2 separate regions of the Homo sapiens genome follow, and region 2 is linked to region 1. The links are contacts of gene promoters, found by promoter capture Hi-C in human tissues and cell types (Jung and others, 2019). All regions are on one chromosome and are shown on one strand. The core of a region is centred on a gene start or on the middle of the fragment in contact, and the rest is flanking DNA. Distances in the headings are between cores, read along the strand shown.

Region 1 (5,567 bases), core at 487-2,986:
GTCGTTTTACATTCTTAAAGCACCACAGCAAAGTGATTTAAATGCAAAATGTGCTTAAGTGCTACTTAACTATTCCTAACTCTTCTACTGGGAAATCCTAGAAAACTGAACTAATGAAATGCAACTTCTACTTTAAAAATTCTAATTATAACTGTCACATTAAATTGAAGGTGAGAATAAAACTGGTGTATCTGTTAACTAAGTCAAGCGATGTACTGTGTCGTACGTGTTATTTAATGTGCAAGTGTAAAAGTCAAGTTCTCTGCAGAAATCGAAGTGCCTCCCCTCAGTCTTCTGCGAATGTATAAATTAACCATTCTCCCCCAAGCAGTCCTCCTCCCTTCCTCCCTCCGCCCTATTTTAAATGTAGATAGGGCGACCTAAGTCTTTTGAATTTGAAGGGCTGCTATCTCGGCCCCATTCTTTTCATCATCCTGTTTTCAATGACACTGAGCACGTATAGATTCTTCTATAAAAGCACCCCCTGGATGCAGGGCTTGGTTCTTCAGGCTGCTTGCTTAATTTTGCATAGCAATTAGTACTGACTTCACTAAACCAGTAATCCAAATACAGCTCGAGAATGTTCCACGTAGTTCCTCAAACTTAACCCTGTGCCTTTTGATTTCAAGCCCGAAGGGGGGGAACTTGCATAATTACTAAATTCCCAATTGGAGTGGTCTGAAGGAGGGTACGGTAAACCCAAACTATACGTTAATTCAAACCCTCGCCGCGACTGGGCAGCAAGGAGCCAACATATGCCTTCTTTTAAAAATCTATTCTACCTATTCACTGACCGCGCAGGGCCGTGCCACATGGTCCTCCCTTGCAGCCAGTCAGCTGTGAGCAGCAGATGGGATCATTTGCATTTTTCTTTTTATACTTTCTTTGATCGGCAAATTAAAGGATTTTTCTTAAATTTACATTCTCATTGTTTGCCTAAAATACAAACGTGGCTAAACTGTTGAATTGGGCTTCCCTGACTCTCACCCAGCACCTCCCCCTCCCCCTACCCAGCCACTGAGACTTGAGAAAATACCCGAGGGGTAGATTTCGTATTTATCAACTGGGAATCTACAGTCCAAGAGTTAGGAGTAGACAGAATCAGCCTTTATTGAGTTGGTGACTCGTGTTTTTCTATTTTAGGCGCTCGGCGCAGACAGCCCGTGGGTTTGTGTTTGTGGGGTGTGTGTCTGTGAGCGCGGGCGCTTCCGAAGCTCTCGCTCCGCAGCCTCACACCCCAGAACTTCGGGTTGCAAGAGCAGATTTTAGCTCTGAGGCTCACAACAGAGGGCGGCCACCGTGCAGGGGGAGTGGCCAGAGCCAGCTTTTCCCAGCGCCAGGGTCGCTCTCCCGGGTCCCGCCGGACTCCATGCCGCCCCGCGGGGCCGCAGGAGCCACCCGGGCCCTCGCGCCCCAAGGTCTTTGTGCCGGTGGCGGCGCGGGAAGACCGGCCCCGGGGGCCTGGGCTGCGGCCCAAAGGCCAAAAATGCGGGAGAGGCGTGGGCGCGAGGCGGGACAAGCTCCGCACAGTCGCCGTCCCGCAAGGGGCAAAAAAGTAGAAAAAGCCGTTTGGGGCCAAACTCTCGGGTCTGAGAAACCACGTTTCCGAGGACGAACTCGCGGTGGGAGGACACATGGGGTACAGGGGACATTGTTCGCGGCGCCTGCCCGGCGCGCCGTGGGTGCGCGGCCGCCGCCCCCGCCCCGGGCAGCCAGCGCGGGCCCACGTGGAGCCACTGCGCTGGCCGAGCGCGCCGGGCCGCCTGGGTCCCGGGAGTGCGCGCCCGAGCTCCCCGCCGCGGCCGTTCACGCCCGAGCGCCGCCGCCGCCGGTCCCGCGTGTGCCCCGCTGAGGGGGAGGGGCGGGCCGGGGGTGGGGGCGGAGGGGTTGTGGTTCCACTGCAGCGGGGGCTCCTGTGTCCTTGTGCGGAAATGACACACGGAGTCCCGTCACGTCACGCGAGAGCGCAGCGCACGGACACACACAAAGAGAGGGGAAAATACACGGCGCTCGCCCGCCCGCCGCCCCCAGCGCCTCCCCGGGCCGCCCTGGCCAGGCCCTCCGCGCGCGGCCCCCACTCCCCGGCCCCGCGCCCTCCCCCCCACGTGGCGCCCAAACTCGGCGCGGGCCCGCCCGGCAAAGTACAGAACTCGCGTCCCAGGTAAGTGCGGGGCGGATCAAGCCGGCCGCGCGGCGGCGGCAGCGTTGGCGGCTCCGGGGCGAGCGGCCGGTAGAGTGGCTGCAACATCCATGCCGGGGTGGGGGCGGGAGCAGGGGAGGGGACGCGGAGGGGGGCTGCTCCGAGCGCGCCCGCCGGTAGTAGCGCCCACCCCCGCGCGGGCCGAGCGACCGGAGCGGGCGCCGGGCGCCCACGGGCTCGCCGCGCCCATTGTGCTGCGCGCCCCTTTGTGCCCGCTCGGAACGCGGCGGCTCCATGGCGTTCTGGGGAGCACGCGCGCCGCGCGGGGGCGGGGGGTTCGCGCGGTGGAACCGTCCGCGCCGCCGCCGCCGCCCGCCCCACTCGCGCCGCGCGCCGGCCCCGCACCCCCGCCGGGCGCCGCGATGGAGCGGCCGGGGCGGCCGGAAGGCTCTGCCGTACTCGCGGCGGCTTGGCGCTCGCGCTCGGCGGGGCTTTGGCGGGGCACTGCTCGGCGTGTGGAAGGGGGTGTCGGAGCGGGAGCAGGGGGCGGGGACTGGAGGGAGATGCCGGGCGGCGAGCGGGAGGCCGGGGGAGCAGCCGCTCGGAGGAACGAAGCCTCCGGAGGCTGCAAATGGAGCGAGGCCGGCCCGCGGCGGCGGCGGCCGGGAGCGGAGAGGGATGGGCCCCGCCGCCAGGGGGCGCAGCGCTCCCTTCCCGGCCGTTCCACGGCGGTTCGCGGTTCCCGCTGCCCAGGAGCTGGAGGCGGGCCCGGCGCCTTGGGTGTGCACCCGGGCTGGCGCGAGGCCTGGCCGGCCGGCCGCAAAGCTGAAGCCTGGGGCGCTCGCCGCTCCTCGTGAGCGCTCCTTTCCTTCTCTATGATAAACGTGATTTCCCACGCATGCTTTGCCCTTGCCTCATCCGTGAGCTGTGCACCACCGATTTGGAGGCCCTTGTGTGCTTGTTTACCTACGTCTCCCTATGTAGCTATTTTAAACAAGGTGTTTTTACAGAGATAAAAGTTTTATTGATTGCTCAGGTGGTCTTTCTGGAAGAATTCTGCACGTAAACGCTAACTCGACAAGAGTGCCGGGAGGAACAAGGTTACTCACTAGAGTTGGAAATGTGCAGTTCATCTCCTTAAAGTAACTTTTGAATGGTTGAATACAAATAGTAAACATGCCACAGGGCAGCGTGGCATAGTGCCAGAAAGCTACGGTTGCAGGAAACTGAGGTAAGGAACTGAGTCCTTCAGGTAGCCAGGTATATAAACGGCTGGGATGGAGGACTTTCTCTTGTTACCCGCTCCCCACTTCCACCCTTGCAGTCCGTTTTTCTCTCTTTTTTTTTTAAACCATTCATCCCTAGATATTGGCTTTATACTACCATACAAGAGCCTGTCAAGCTTTCCTCGGTACTGGGACTTGGGCAAGATTTTTTATCTCCCTCACAGTTTCACATCCCCAGCCTCTAACCCGGTGTCTCATAACTTAGTAGGCGTTCAGTGCGTATTTCCTAAATGAATGGAGAGAGCCTCTTGGATTCTAGAGGAAAGATGGAGCCAGAGCGCCAGTTGCTGCTGCTGGGTTAGCTGGTGTCTGTGTGGCCCTTGAAATCTGTCACATCAACCTCCTGTCATGGAACATGAGTTTTTTTTTTGTTTTTTTTTTTTTTTTGAGACGGAGTCTCGCTCTGTCACCCGGGCTGGAGTGCAGTGGCTTGATCTCTGCTCACTGCAACGTCTGCCTCCCGGGTTCAAGCGATTTTCCTGCCTCAGCCTCACGGAGTAGCTGGGATTACAGTCCATGTGCCACCATGCCTTGCTAATGTTTGTATTTGTAGTAGAGACGGAGTTTCACCATGTTGCCCAGGCTGGTTTCCGGACCTCAGGTGATCTGCCTGCCTGGCCTCCCAAAGTGTTGGGATCACAGGCATGAGCCACCGTGCTTTTTTTTTTTAGACAGAGTCTCGCTCTATCACCAGGCTGTAGTGCAGTGGCGTGATCTCTTCTCGCTGCAACTTCCGCCTCCCAGGTTCAAGGGATTTTCCTGCCACAGCCTCCCGAGTAGCTGGGACTACAGGCGCGTGCCACCACTCCCGGCTAATTTTTTGTATTTTTAATAGAGACGGGCTTTCACCGTGTTAGCCAGGATGGTCTCAATCTCCTGACCTCATGATCCGCTCACCTTGGCCTCCCAAAATGTTGGGATTACAGGCGTGAGCCACCGCGCCCAGCCTTTCTTTTTTTTTTTTTTTTCTTGAGACAGAGTTTTGCTCTTGTTGCCCAGGCTGGATTGCAATGGTCTGATCTTGGCTCACCGCAACCTCTGCCTCCTGGGTTCAAGTGATTCTCCTGCCTCAGCCTCCCAAGTAACTGGGATTATAGGCGCGCGCCACCATGCCCGGCTAGTTTTGTATTTTTAGTAGAGAGGGGATTTCTGCATGTTGGTCAGGCTGGTCTCGAACTCCCGACCTCAGGTCATTCGCCAGCTTCGGCCTCCCAAAGTGCTGGGATTACAGACGTGTACCACCACGCCCAGCGTTTTTTTTTGTTGTTGTTGATACCAGAGATGCCATCTTCTTGCTGAAGAACTAATATAATGGGAAAGTTTTATGTGATTCCGCCTACCTTCTCCATGCCCAGCAAGACGATAGGCTGGTTAGGAACTGGCAGATGAGACAGTCAGCATCCCAACAATCTATTAACAGGTGCCATATTGACACATTTTCTTTACATCCTCTCCCTGTGGGTTCTTTCTTGGCTCCTAAGCACCCCTGTGTGAGCAGAAGCATAGCAGAATGTCCAATAATTACAAAGAGAAAAATTGGAGTGAGCCCTGACACAGGTTTGATTAGGTGAAAATGTAATATCCTATATTAATGTCTCACCTGCTACTTTTTAGCGCTGCCTAGAAAGTCCCTGGAAACAATGAGAAGGAAAACAGCATGTTTATATGAATTGTATTGACACCATGATGAAAAGTTTAAAGACCTCAAATTGTATAATGTAGAAGCATAGAGTATGAAGGTCGCTAGCCAACCAGCAAAAATGATTTGGTGTTTGTATATGGGAGGCTGGGATGTAGTGTTTTTTTCCTGGTGCTTAATTTTTTTTTTTTTTTTTTTTTTTTTGAAACGGAGTCTCACTCTGGTGCCCAGGCTGGAGTGCAGTGGCGCGATCTCGGCCCACTGCAACATCCATCTCCTGGGTTCAAGTGATTCTCCTGCCTCAGCCTCCCAAGTAACTGGGATTACAGGTGCGTGGCACCACACCCATCTAATTTTTGTATTTTTAGTAGAGATGGGGTTTCACCTTATTGGCCAGGTTGGTCTTGAACTCCTGACCTCAAGTGATCCACCGGCCTCAGCCTCCCAAAGTGTTAGGATTACAGGTGTAAGCCATCGCGCCTGGCCTGGTGCTTAATTTTGG
Region 2 (5,061 bases), core at 2,309-4,808, 85 kb before region 1:
TGGGGTAATAAAAATGTTCGGCACTTGTTAGTGGTGATGATTGCATAACATTGTGAATGTACTAAATGCCACTGAATTATACTGTTTTAAATGATTAAAATGATTAATTTTATGTTATGTAAATTTTACCTAAATTTTTAAAAGACTTTGGGATGTTTGCCTATGGCAAACCAACTTGATGAAGAAGTCATGAAGCAGACATTGAAAGTTTTTGAGCCTGATATGATCAAGGTCTGAGCTGCGAGGGAGGTAAATCTGGCTATATTATATACGATGAAAGGAACAAAGAGATACTAAAAGCAAGGAGATCAATTAAGAAGTTTTTGGAAACCCATTGATAAGCACAAGAGAAAAGCCCAATCAGAGTGTTGGCAATGAGAATGGGAAGATAAGGAGGTTAAGCGTAAAACTCATTTCAGAGAAAATATATGGGACTAGAAAACTGATCTGATAGGGAGAGGCTGACAGGTGTGGACTGGGGAGTGGCACTCAGAGGCTAAAACAAGGATTTTGGACTAGGATAACAGAAAAAATTAAGCCATTAATAGAAATAGGAAAGTTAAGTGGAAAGACTGGTTTAACTTAGGTTCTTGACATGGTGAGTTTGAAGTACTCCATCAAGGTTGATGGCCGTTGCCTTGGGAACTTGCTGCTGGAGGAAGCAACTAAATTCTACTATTAGCCTGATTTCCTTAATCATGGCCTTTCTGAGACCTGAGTCGATTTTTTTTCCTGGTCACACTGTGCAATTTAAAATTTCATGTTTCTTCCAGATTCCAAGAGAGCAGCATAGCAAGAAAAACAGGTTACAAAGAAATAACAAGACCTCTGAGCAGAGAGAGATTTGTTATGTAGATAATACAAGTAGTATCTCCTCGCCTTACTCTAGTATATCTAGTATCTCCTTGCCTCTCTCCTTTCTAAAATTGGACACCATAGCCTTCTACATCTGCTGTTGCTTCTTTTTCTCCAGTGAACCAAAGGAACAGAATATGAGAAAATTAATTCCTTAGACATCCACGCTTGCCTCTAAAAGTCGATTAGCTTTCCCAGTTGAAAGAGATGGTAAAATCAGGTACCCAAGCAAAGCAGTCCAGGTGTGAATGGTGTTAACTTCCTTGCACATGCCTTCTGCGCTCTCTTATTCATAGAGAATGACCAAGATAGCAGAGAAAAGGCCTGCCCTGTTCCTTTATATTCTGCTATCTTTCCAGCTCTGTAACTAGAAAGCCGAGCAACACAAGGCCTGCTTCTACCAAACCAATACTCAGTGGGCTGCTCTAACTTCCGGGCTAGCAGATGTAGTAGATTTCTGATTTGTGACCCTTCTTTCTGTTATCCCCATACACTACACACTGTTTTGTTTTGTTTTGTTTTGTTTTGTTTGTTTTTTTTTTGCAGAGATGGCCAGCCTGAACTGTATTTTAAATAGCATTATAGGGCTGGGTGCAGTGGCTCATGCCTGTAATCCCAGCACTTTGGGAGGCCAAGGCGGGAGGATTGCTTGAGGCCAGGAGTTCAAGACCAGCTAGGCAACATAGCAAGATCCCATCTCTACTAAAAACTTTTAAAAGTAGCCAGGTGTGGTGGTGTGTACCTGTAATCCCAGCTATTCAGGAGGCTGAGGCTAGAGAATCTCTTGAGTCCAGGAGGTCAAGGCTACAGTGAACCATGATTGTGCCACTGCACTCTAGCCTGGGCAACAGAGGGAGACCCTGTCAGACAAACAAATAAGTAATTAACTATTATAGTAAATGTCAGTGTTCTTAGGGACAAATGCTGAAGTATCTAGGGGTGAGCATCCTTATGTCTAAAACTTACTCTCAAATAATAAATGGTCATGGAGAGAAAGGGGGAAAACAGAAGTGGTAAGGTGTTAGCAACTGTTGAATCTAAGTGGAGGGAAAATGAGTGTTCATTGTATTCTTTCAACTAAAAAGTTTGCGGGGGAAGGTAGTTTTCCTTGAAGATTTAAAAAGGAAATCTTTAAAAATGGCAGTTATTCTAAAATATAGCCTGTAACATTTGGGAAGAATAACCTGATAAGTAGAGATGATTAGTCTCTAGCAATTTCTGGACTCCCTGCTGTGGAATATTAGTTTTCTGCTTTTAGAAAAAGGTGTCCCCATATCCAGCTTTCAACTCCAGATAACAGTAGTTGGAAATTGGAAACAGTTCATTTATGTCATCCAATCCTTCTTTGTTACCTGACTTATAAAAAAACGTTTGTTTCTTAAAGTAAAAGACCACATTGTACATCCATTACTTACCAACAGGGAATCTGTCTGCCTTTAGTCTACAGAGACTGGTATATAAACCTTTGGAATTAATTCCTTTGTGCATCCTCTCAATCAGAGTGCTGGCTTTTTTTTTTTTTTTTTTTTTTTTGCTTTTGTATGGAATATTGTTTTACAGTGTTCACTATAGCTGTCCGAGGAGGCCTCCAGTGTCATGAGCACAGGCACACTATCTTGTCTATTTTCACATTTTTAAAAGATAAAACAAGGTTCAAACCACACATTCTCTGTGAACTGCTAAAGATTTGGAAAAAATTACTTTCTTTTCTCTTGACCTGGATTGACAAGAAGCACACCTACAGGAGGCAAAAAGATGAGTGAATCCCTTTTAAAGACCCTAGTAATGAAGCCCTCAGGGAATTGCTGTGTATGGTAGAATTTACAGCGGCTTCTGGGGACGAACAGTGTGGCAGGAAGAGGTTCAGGACTGCTGGCTGTTGAAATATAGATTCCATTTATTTTATATCAGCCTATTTTGGGCCCCTGTGAGAAAGTTATTTTAATAATATCTTGCTCTGGCTGGCCGCAGTGACTCATGCCTGTAATCCCAACGCTTTGGGAGGCTGAGGTGGGCGGATCACCTGAGGACAGGAGTTTGAGACTACCTGGCTAACACGACAAAACCCCGTTATACTAAAAATACAAAAATTATCCAGGCATGGTGGTGGGCACCTATAATCCCAGCTACTAGGGAGGCTGAGGTAGGAGAATCGCCTGAACCTGAGAGGTGGAGGTTGCAGTGAGCCGAAATCACGCTATTCCACTCCAGCCTGGGGAACAGAGTGAGACTCCATCTCAATAATAATAATAATAATATCTTGCTCTGCTAGAAATACACATGATAAGTGGCAGGTGTCAGAACAAAAAGGGAAAAGTTGCAGTCCATTCTCCTCGAGACTTATGGAGTTTACATAGTTGTTCTCTTTCAGCCTTTGAAGTAAACCCTGATGCACATAGAAGCACAAATTAAAAAAGACATTAGACATAGGCCAGACCAATGATCCTCAAACAAATCAGAATCACAGGGGTAGGCTATGGAGAATCTGCATTTTTCGCAAGCTACCCAGGTGATTCCAATACATCCAGCCCAGCATTTGTGAGAGCCCAGCATCTGGGAACTTCTGGTCTGGTCTGGTGTTCTACAGATCAAGAAATGAAGGCCTATACAAAAATGTAAAAATTATTCAAGTTATTAACCAATGAAGGACTAGAAACCATATTTTCTGGCTCCCAACATATCCATCTTCCCAGGTCACAATGCCTCTTGAAGTGTTCACAATTAAGATCTTAGGCCTTTTGCTGTAATCAGTAGACAAGGCCTTTAATCCCTGAAATTTTGAGGTGTATGTCTTGAAATCTCTCTGGAGATCTGTTAACTTCCATTCTAAGGTCTTTTCCTTTAGACGCACTGCTTTTAAGGTTGAAGCACTTAATTACACTAATTCTTCTCTGTCCTAGCCTTTTGTTGGTTAATTTTCATGAAATCATTGAATTTGTTTTCTACAGATGGAAGCTTAGGTTCCCTTCTTTAGTGTATTTATAAATAGAAGGTGGGTGAGAAAATGAAAATATGCCATTGTTCTATATGGGTAAAAATTACATGTAAGGCATCAGCTAAGGGCTCTACATTACCTGCATACTAGCTCACAAACAAAAACATCCAGCTTTCCTAGAACTAGGAGTGAGTAAAATTCGTTTTTCCTGTACATTCCCTGAATAAGTAGTACATAACCAATACATATAAAGAAAAAGCTTCATCCATTTATTCATTCACTCAGACACTGATCTCAACTTGGGATACAGTTGTGAGCAAGAGAAAATTTCCTTGCTTTCATGGAGCTTGGGAGATTGTAGACGAAGCATATCTAAAACAGTATTGTGTAGGTAGGTGCAGTGGCCCATGCCTGTAATCCCAGCAGTTTGGGAGGCCAAGGCAGGAGGATCAGTTGCATCCAGGAGTTCGAGACCAGCCTGAGCAACATAGTGAGACCCCATCTCTATAAAAAATTAAAAATTAACCAGGCATGGTGGTACATACCTGTAGCCCCAGCTACTCAGGAGGCTGAGGCAGGAGGATCACTTGAACCTGAGAGGTTGAGGCTGCCGTGAACTGTGATTACAGCACTGCACTCAGCCTGGGTGACAGACAGAGTAAGACCCTGTTTAATCAACCAATCAAACAGTCAGTCAATCACAATACTTTGTAACCTCCTAGAATATAAATTCCAAGAGGTCACACATTTTGATCTGTTCTGTTCATGCCTGTGTCTGTAGTGCCTAAGCAGTGTCTGACTCATAGTAGGTGCTGAATGAGTATTTGTTAAATGAATGAGCAACCAAGAGGTGTAATAGAAACTATCGCTTCTCCCAAATTAACTATCTTACAAAAAGAATAAGGATAGTATTTAATGAGAAATATCATTTATGTAGGAATCTAAATCATTTATTTGTATCTAACTTGACATATTTTTATTTATTTATTTTTTGAGACAGGGTCTCATTCTGTCACCCAGGCTGGAATGCAGTGGTGCAATCACAGCTCACTGCAGCCTTGACCTCCTGGACTTAATCAATTTGCCCACCTCAGCCTCCTAAGTAGCTGGGATTACAGGTGCGCGCCACCATGCCTGGCTGATTTTTGCTGTGTTGTTGTTGTTGTTGTTGTTGTTGTTGTTGTTGTTATTGTTTGTAGAGACAGGTTTCTCACCATGTTGCCCAAGCTGATCTCAAACTCTTGTGCTCATGTGATCTGCCCGCCTTGGTC

What was found. The method cuts DNA at HindIII sites, captures the fragments that hold promoters and counts their contacts. A contact is called where the count stands out against the background at its distance.
Region 2: a fragment that was not itself captured here is called in contact with the fragment with the promoter of BEND3 in region 1 in 2 of the 25 tissues and cell types used here (aorta and pancreas).

What each region holds. Positions count from the first base shown.
Region 1 is chr6:107,111,684-107,117,250 of GRCh38, reverse strand. It overlaps BEND3 (BEN domain containing 3), which reads left to right and starts at 1,736. Exons shown (of 4, transcript NM_001367314.1): 1 at 1,736-2,161. RefSeq lists enhancers at 1-486, 487-1,250 and silencers at 1,843-1,892, 1,933-1,982, 2,113-3,022. The HindIII fragment of the contact is 9,723 bases long and covers 1-4,586 here.
Region 2 is chr6:107,198,718-107,203,778 of GRCh38, reverse strand. The region is part of intron 6 of PDSS2 (decaprenyl diphosphate synthase subunit 2); the gene reads left to right. Among named protein-coding and RNA genes, the nearest start is that of BEND3, 86 kb to the right of the region's middle. The HindIII fragment of the contact is 4,918 bases long and covers 1,100-5,061 here.